3 separate regions of the Homo sapiens genome follow, and all the other regions are linked to region 3. The links are contacts of gene promoters, found by promoter capture Hi-C in blood cells and fetal thymus (Javierre and others, 2016). All regions are on one chromosome and are shown on one strand. Each heading gives the region's core, a stretch centred on a gene start or on the middle of the fragment in contact. The rest is flanking DNA. Distances are from core to core; before and after follow the strand shown. Region 1 has its middle 36 kb from the start of RTP4. Region 2 overlaps MASP1 (MBL associated serine protease 1). Region 3 holds the start of RTP2 (receptor transporter protein 2).

The links. The method cuts DNA at HindIII sites, captures the fragments that hold promoters and counts their contacts. A CHiCAGO score of 5 or more calls a contact.
Region 1: a fragment that was not itself captured here is called in contact with the fragment with the promoter of RTP2 in region 3 in 7 of 17 cell types (naive B cells, activated CD4 T cells, total B cells and 4 more); the score reaches 7.5 in naive B cells.
Region 2: a contact is called between a fragment that was not itself captured here and the fragment with the promoter of RTP2 in region 3, in 1 of 17 cell types (endothelial precursors). The highest score is 5.2, in endothelial precursors.

The regions. Positions count from the first base shown.
Region 1 is chr3:187,331,373-187,334,245 of GRCh38, forward strand. No RefSeq gene overlaps it. Among named protein-coding and RNA genes, the nearest start is that of RTP4, 36 kb to the right of the region's middle. The HindIII fragment of the contact is 4,956 bases long and covers 1-2,873 here.
Region 2 is chr3:187,262,576-187,265,761 of GRCh38, forward strand. It overlaps MASP1 (MBL associated serine protease 1), which reads right to left. Exons shown (of 11, transcript NM_139125.4): 3 at 1-145. Among named protein-coding and RNA genes, the nearest start is that of MASP1, 28 kb to the right of the region's middle. The HindIII fragment of the contact is 586 bases long and covers 1,268-1,853 here.
Region 3 is chr3:187,701,258-187,704,082 of GRCh38, forward strand. RTP2 (receptor transporter protein 2) reads right to left here and starts at 1,300. Exons shown (of 2, transcript NM_001004312.2): 1 at 708-1,300. The coding sequence starts at 871. LOC100131635 (hCG1645011-like) reads left to right here and starts at 1,109. Exons shown (of 3, transcript NR_034062.1): 1 at 1,109-1,282. The HindIII fragment of the contact is 5,389 bases long and covers 1-2,825 here.

The DNA.
Region 1 (2,873 bases), core at 128-2,627, 370 kb before region 3:
GGTCCTTCAAGGGAAAAGGTCTCATTTCAGGTGGGACTAGATGGCAGAGTGATAGTGGGAGGGTCCCTGTACCCTCAGACATTCATTTTGAAATCTCGCGTCTCTCTGAGTTGTGAGAGCTGGTATGGAGGAGCTCCGCAGGCCCTGCCAGAGCTGAGGAACCCCAATTCTGTAAGACCAGTCTCAGAAAAAATAGAATCCACTTACTCTCTTCTAAAATGTTCCACATGGACCCACATGAGTGCGGAGCTCACCTGTTCCTGGTGGTCAGAACTGGTACCCATCCTGCTGCTCTGTTTGTGCAGGTGCAACCAGACATGGGGCCCTTCTCTTTAGGAATTTGTTAGGCATTTGTCCACAGCCATGGGTCAAAAAGCCCAGGAAGATGTTCTCGGTTTACAATAGTGGTCAGGGCCCTTGCTCACAGCTGCTGGTCCCAGGGCCAAGACTTGCCCAGCTTAAAATTCCTTTTCCTCTCCTCCCTGCCTGCTCAGGATCTACTCAGCTTCTCTGGGAAGATATCACTCCTTTCTCTGAACTTCTGGTCTCTTTTTTTAATTGTCTTCCATTATTACTTAAATATTTGCTATCTTGGCTCCTAAGTGGATGTGCCCTTCCTATCTGGCATTTCTTTTGAAATTCCCGGTATTAGTCCATTTTCACACTGCTATGAAGAAATACCCCAGACTGGGTAATTTATAAAGGAAAGAGATTTACTTGACTCACAGTTCCACATGGCCAGGGAGGCCTCAGGATACTTACAATCACAGTGGAAGACGAAGGGGAAGCAAGCATCTTCTTCATAAGGCAGCAGGAGAGAGAAGAGCAAAGGAGAAACTTCCAAACACTTAAGAAGCCATCAGATCTCATGAGAACTCACTAGCTATGATGATAGCAGCATGGGGGAAACTGCCCCCATGATCCAGTCACCTCCCTCCCTTGACATGCAGGGATTACAATTCGAAATGAGATTTGGATGGGGCACAAGCCAAACCATATCACTCCCCCAAACACTTGTTTGGTTCCAATGTCCAGTGTAATGAAGAAGCATTTAAACCTGCCGTCTCTGCATGTGCTCCCACTAGAACCCACCAGTGTGTGTGTCAGTCTCCTGAACCATTCGCTTCTTTTCCTCTTTGCTGATATTTGTATTCCGTCAGACAATTTAGGTACAATTTGTGTTTGACATGATGAAATGCACATGCCTTTACATGGCATGAGCTCTTCCCCATCCAGCACTCATCAGCCTCATGAAACACCACACCCTCTGCCTTCCAGTTAAAATGGATTCTCCAGCCACCTCTCTAAGGCTCTGCACATTTGCTGGGAGAACATGCCACTCAACCTAGTTCTCCATTCATCATCTCTAGAAGCCTTCATGGACTCCCCATTCAGAGCTGAGCTCTCCTATCTCTGTGTTCCCTCACCATTGTGTTCCTCCTTCATGGCGCAGTCATCACGATGGTAATTTCTGTTGTTAAACCACAGGAAACTAGAAAACAGAGGTCAAGTCTCTGTCTTCACGTGTGACTAGCACAGTGCCTAATGAAGATAAATATTTATCAGCTGAATGAATGAATCAATGATTGATTGATTCTTAGATGACTAAAATCATCTAAGACCCCAATTGACAAAGGAAAGCAAAGATCTTGAGCTGGGCTAAAAACCAGAGTTTAACATGAGAATCTGTTAAATGCTTACTCCCATTTACGTCTCTTCAGCCCAAAAGATTCAGATTCAGTAGGACCAAGGCAAGGCCTGGCAAACACATTTTTAAAAGCCTCCCAGTTGAGCCTAATTTATCAGCTCTGGCGACCTGCTGATGACTTGAGGATTCTTCTTTGGGAAAGTCTGTGCTTTTGCCTTTCTCCCAGGGCTCAGGGACAGGAACAATGTGGCAAGAATCACTGGATCTGTTTGGCCCCTCACTCTCTAGGGAGGCTGAAGAGGCCACTTACTTCTCTAGCATTCTAACCCTGCATAAGTAAAACCATTTACAGCCTGACTCCCACGGAGGGCTGTGTCCTAGGCAAGACAGTCCTGTGCCCAAGCAGAATGCAGAGCCACGGAGCCTAGCCTGAGATTTGCATTTTGGCTAACTTCTAAATCCAAGAGGATTTGAGGAAAATAGAGCAACATTTTGCTATTAGGGTCCTGTCATCTCATTACTGCTTGATGTGATTGACAACCCTGGTATGAGCAGTCTGCCTTTCAGCCTCCGTCTTTTTCTAATGAGTATTGACTCAGTGTTTTCCTTTAATTAATATTCATTGCGATAAAAAATGGCACTCATTCACTTTTAATTATACCCTTCTTGCATAAACAGGCTTTTAATAACAGATCTTTTAGGGTGAAAAAACAAGCTCTCTGCTCCCAGCTTTGTCTGATGCCAGGAAAGCAGCCTCTGTTATTGATAAAGGGGATTTCAATTTGTTACTTGGTGCAGTGGAAGGAGCTGTGGGTGGAAAGTTAGCTCTTCTACTTCTAGCTCCAGCTCTGCAAAAGGTATTGGAGGTTCTTGGGCTAACTCCGTTCCCCCTCGCGCCTCAGCCTTTGTATCTGAAAAATGGTGATTGAACCAGATCAGTGGTTCTCATCCATTACTGTATATTGGGATCACCTAGGGAAATTATTTAAAAATACCAAAGACCAGGCCACATTCCAGACCAACTACATGAAAATCACTATGAGTAGGACCAAGGCACCACTATTTTAAAAAAGATTTCCAGATGAAAATTCTTAAATACTGAATACTTCAGGATTGATAACTGCTGATATGGGCATCACTCTCACCAGACTTCGAGTGACTTGGGGCTGCTGCTTGGGTTTCGGATCACACAGGACCCAGGAGAGAGGCTGGGCTCGGCCTCATG
Region 2 (3,186 bases), core at 311-2,810, 440 kb before region 3:
AACGCTCCTCATTGGAGAAATCTGACCGGAAAGTGATGGACATGAAGGAGCCAGGGGAGAGGACCACCTCCTGGCCGGGAGTCTGCTCTGTGTCTGTGGTCTCCCTGCCACAGAAGGTTGCCAGCACCTGGTCCTCAGTTTCTACCTTTGAGGTCAAAGAGAAAGGGAACAAGATGAGCAGTTTCCCAGCTAGGCTTCTTTCCTTATCTTTAGAAAGAAAAAGGAAGGGGCCACCCAAGAGTAGGCTAGTCAGCCTGAGAAACCCAAAGAAAGGAGGTTAAGGATTCTTGAGAAAAGACGCATTACAAGTTAATTCAATGTGGACATCTGATCAGTTTCATTCGTCTTATTTAGTTCCATTAGAAGTAGCTTGATATTTGTTGTTGCTGTCAATAACCAAGCAGCTTATTTATTAAAAATAACTCAATATGAAAGTTTTAAAAAGTTAGATAACCTCGCAGACAGATTCTCTGCACAACAGGAACTTACCACATTTCCAAAGAATGGAAACTGTATACACAATATAAGTCATTCATTGAGTATCCAGTGTGTGCCTACTGCCGAGCAAAGCATGAGATGGAGGTGATGAGAGATAGACACAGTGCTGTGCACACAATAGCAGTGTTGAGATTGAGGAACACAGACACAGGCAGGTATTACACAGTGTGACAAATGCTTTCACACAAGCAGAAGCACTGCATATGCACTCAAAGCAGGCAAACAATCCACATTAGAATATAAGCTACAGGAGAGAAGGACTTTATTTTCTTTATAGATGTGTCTTCAGTGCATGGAACAGGACCTGGCACATAATAGTTATCCAATAAACATTTGTTTACAAGAACTGAAAGTACAAGCCCCATTCTGTGAACAGTGAGTAGCCAGGGAGTCTGTGGGGATTGTAGGAGGAGATGTACTTGGAAGGATACATGGAAAGAAAATTATGGTTGACCTTGAATGCCATTAATTCTGTGAGTAAGTGGAAGACACTGAAAACTTTTAAGCAGGAAAGTCATGTAATGAAAACTAATGTTTAATAGGCAGTCTTAATACAGAAACTATTTATTGGAATCACCCAAAAATAGTTTGAGTGTGTATCTCTGTGTGTACATGTTTGTGTTAAGACTTAGATGCAAAAAACATGCCTGTTTGCTAAAAGAATTCCCTTCTTTGGAAGAGCCAGAGGCCCTGTGCGAATTCAGAGATCCAAGCAGAGATCCTAAACTGGTGGCTTAAAGCTGATTTTATGTGAGACAGGAGTTTGGGAAGCTTCGTATGATAGCTAGTTGGTATATTTATTTGAGTATAAATTCTTGACGTATCTATTCGATTATCTTATACCTAATCCAATTCTTTTAAGTTGTATTTGTGTTTGCAACCTCTGGACCAAATTTTAGCCAAGATGCATGAAAAAAATCTCTTACCAAGAATGATTCCTGCTGCCTTTCAAAGTCATTAGAGAAAAGTTCTCAAAGGCGGCTATCTCTAGTAGCTTCTAATGAATTCATTGTTTTGTTCGTTAGCTTAGCATGTCAGAAATATCTTGACATTTGACACTCCTGTTTTGAAACTAATGGTTTATTTATTTAAAATAAGTGGGAGTTTCAAAGAAAAACAATTTGCCCTGGCAACAAAACGCAAGTACAATTAATCACTAACTTTGGGAATTGAAGTGTAAACAGAAGATGAGATCATGGCTTTGCTATTTATTCCTCTTCTCTGCAGATACCAGCCGAACTCACACCAGTCTTGTTACTATAGAATGTGCCTATCTGCACACAGCTGAAATGTCACTTCCTTGAACCTCCCAGCTGCTGTGTTATTTTATCTGACTCAGTTTTCCAGATAGCCAAAGCTTTACCTAACTATAACTAAAAATTTTCTTTTTGGTGTAACACTTAAAAAAAAAAAAGTACTTTAAAGAAGTACCCACTTTCTCAAGTGAAACATGCTAACCCTTTCTTGGTGATCCAGGGACATTGTTATGAATGTCAACCATTGTGATACTATATTAAAGTGATAATCTTGGGGATATTGAGTTGTGTAATGTCGCTTGACCTGGCGTTAAACATTGCCGGACTATAAAGCCTTGAACTTCTGAAGTCTTCTTTATGTCATGTTTTATTTCCTGTCTTTTTATCAGCCTATTCACTGTACTTTTCTGTCTGCTTATTTTTAATATGTTGTGAATTAGAAACCAGTTAACTGCTTTTGCTAGAACTTAATAAAAAAAAGCTAAATAGATTTAGAATGAGGGCCTGGGAAAGGGATTCTTCTGTGAGTAACTGCATGAACTAGAGTACACCATCTTGGTGACCTCTGCTTTGGAGTAATACGATATACAGGAACCTGGCAGTTGGAGGTCCTGGGTCCTGTTCCTGACACTGCCGTATTCTGCATTTTGGGCCATCTCCTTTCTAGCTCTCAGTTATCCACTTGTAAAAACAGGGGTTTGGACTAGCTGAGCTCTAGATTCCTTTCCAATTCCAGACATAGCAGTCATCATAGTCTAACACAGTTCTAACAAATCATCATAGTCATATATTATATAAACCAACCAGAAGATGGTAAGCAGGAGTTTTAACATATGCAGGATTACTGCTTGCGGATGAACTTGAATTTGTTAATAATGAATAGTCATGCCTTGGGCATTAATAGTTCCAGCTACACAGGCTTCTTTCTGGAACTTGGTATCCCCAGTGCCTCTTGGGTTCTGCAGTGACTGGGACATGAACATTTTCAAGTGAACACACTGGTCATTTGGATTAGGGAGATACTACTGAGGGTCTGTGATAAATGACCTCCCTCCTTGTAACGTCTGGGCTGAAGGACCTTTTCATAATGGCAGATAAATCAGATAAATGGTTATCACCTGCAGAGCCACAGTATTCCAGAGAACAGGAAGCATGCCCCAGCTGAGGCCCATGGGAAAATTTGAGCCATACATCCTTTTAGAAGCAGAGAAGAGAAGGCCAGTAGCCTGGGGCCCTGGGAATTCAGCCTGCAGCTCAGAATAGAGTCCTGGAATATCAGAGCTGGGCGGGACCTTTAAGAGCTATTTCTATCTGCCTCCTTCTATAGGAAACAGAGGTCAAGAGAGGGGAAGTGACTTGCTCAAGGCTGGAGAGATAACATGAACATTTTCTGATATCAGTTTTGCTTTGGGAACTATTCTGAGATGAGAGA
Region 3 (2,825 bases), core at 50-2,549:
ACTCTTTGCCCTGTGGTAGATGTGCAGCTCCTATAAAGAGTGGGACCCTGGGCTCTAAGTTCCTAAAGAAAGTTTTGCTCAAAGCTAAATCTTTTTATCACAGGTGCATAGATAATAGAGCTAGAGTGGATTGGATCTATTATCTAAGACCAACCCCCTCATTTTGTAAATATAAAAACTGAGAGCCAGAAAGGGAAACAGACTTGCCAAGTTTACAAGGCTACTTAGCTATATAGAGCCAGTTCGTAGCACACAGCAGGTGGTCAATAAATGTTTATGTATTCAGATCAAATTGGATTAATTCACTAAACATATCTAGGAACAGAGCATAGCTGTACCCCCTGCATTCCCCCAACTCCTAGATTAAAACTTTCCCCAATGGACCTCATGGCCTCCTTCCTTCAGTTCCAACTCACTCTAAATGTCAGAGATTGCAGGGACATAGATGATATTACAGCTCTTCATTTAATGTGGACAACTAAGACCCAAAGATGGAACATAACTTTCTCAGGGTCACCCAGGGAGTTAGTGGTATTGCTAGGATTAAAAGCAAGAACTCTCTGACCCAGCCGGCTGTCTTTGTCTTTTTCCCCATCTGAGCTGACACCAGAATAAGCCCGCGACTGGGCTCTGTCTCTCCTTGGAAAGTACCCCACAGCTGTGACCCAGGGGCTGTCTGCAAGGTCCCTCCCCACTGAACCTCTCACCTGCCTGAGGCGTGCTGCTCCAGGTACTGCTTCCAGCCAGGGGCCAGCTCACTGGGCTTGAGGTTGGGGTCTATGATGAGCTCCCAGCTGTCCGCTGGCTTTGCCACCTCCATCTTCTCATAGAAGACTTTCTTCCACTCACAAGTGGTCAAGCTGGTACACATGGTCCTGCTGGCAGAGGTGGCAGTTCGAGCTCAGCCCTGGTGAGAACACAGAAAGAGCACGGATAGGTACGGGACAATTCAGTGTCTACGGTCAGAATCCTCATCGGCAGGACTGGGAGTAAACAGGACCCAGCTCCCTCCTCTGTTACCCTGGAACCTGTTACCATGGTAGCCAGGCAGGGCACCAAGAGTGAGGGCTGGGGAGAAGGGAAGCCCCAAGGGGGAGTTTCAGGGCCCTGAGTTAGGCTTCAGAGGCAGCGCTGGGTAGGCCTGAGAGGAGCAAGCACAGTGGGAGGCCCAACCTCAGACCACACTCATCTGGATTTCCAGAGGTCTCCAGGAGGCAAGGACTATTTGGTGGCCCTGCTTCACCCAACTGCTCTTCTAGCATTCTCCACATCATGTGCTATGGTAAGTACGACACCCTAGGAAGTCAAGGAGAAATGAGGGACAGGGAAAGGCAGAGCCTGCTGCTTCCACACCCCCTGATATGCTGTGACCATCACTTACCATGTGCCTAGCACAAACCGCTTGACCTGTGTGCTGGCCAAAGCAGATCAGATCAGGAAACTGAAGTTTATGCAACCCCTAAGTGGCTCATCCAAGATTCAGATCTAGGCCTTCTGAAACCGAGCTCATTTGTTTATTTATTTTAGTACTATTGTGCTCCTAACAGGGAATTGAGTGAGAAGTAACATCTCTTTGCCCAGGGCAATCTTAGACCAGTTGGTGAGCTAGAATGTAATTTCATATGCCATGCAAAGCACAGTAATAACATTTCAGATTCATAGCGTCATAGAACTGTTAGAGCCCATATTCAGTTCCTGGTCCCAAGCCAGGCTAAGGTGGCTGCTGGGGTAATGAGTTTGTTCTGTGCTGCAGGCTCCTGCTGCCTCCATTACTGCTGAGCTGGAGCAAGAGAGCATCCGTAGCTCTGTGATGCCCAATTCAAATTCTTTAGAAACCAGAGGGGAATCTGACTTCAAATTTGGTAATCCAAGTGAAGACACGGTTACCTGAAGGGAGGCTGCCTTGAGCATGGAAAAGACCAGGCATATGGCTGCTTACCCTAGCTTTGGTCCAACTTCCAACTGTAATCATCTTACGATTCTTTAACCCGGAAGTCTGGATCCCTAGACACGCAGAGTTCCAACAGTAAAGAGCTTCAAGAAGTGAAACAGGTTGCTAAGAACCGGAAGCTCTTGGTGTTGAGTTGCCAAGTGGTTTTCAGGAAGTGTGAAGTCAGGGACAATGTCACTGGATTCTCTCTTGAAATGAAAAGTGTTACTCTAGCGGCTTTGTGCTAAAGACCTCAGAAAGGACACAATTGTCTTTGAACCATTGACTGACAGCTCTAGAAGAGCTCTTTTATTTTTAAAAATCTGGTTTATTTCTTGAACTCTTCATTTCTTAACCAAAATTTATTGACATTGAATTAAAACAACTGAGGCCTGGAAATGGAAAATTACTGGCCCAGGCTCTCAGGACTGGGTAGCTCAAACCTCACTGGGGATTCCCTTAGAAGCCAGTTACCAGACCAGGTGAGACAGAGGGATCCATGAATGGCCAGGAACTGAACGAAGCTGAGATGAGCTTATGGCCTGGCCTAGACCCTCGTGCCAGGAAAGAACCTCTGAGAAATAGTATACCCTTGTTCCCAGAACAAATGGCAATAAAGGAAAAACAGAAAGAGGATGAGAATTGTCAGGGTTTACCTGTATTTTCTTTTTTCCTCAAATAATGCAATCCCCTTAGGCCTAGTATCAGGTTTAATTTAGCATAGCAGCTTCTAAGCAGAGACCAATAGAATTCATCTTTCTGTGTAACAGCACTGTTTTCACTTTTCATACAATCAGTGAGCACAATTACTACTTCAATTTTCCGCGAATGACACTATCTTATTCCAGAACCCACGATTTAAGAGCTCACAAATGTATATTGTGTACAGCTGTGG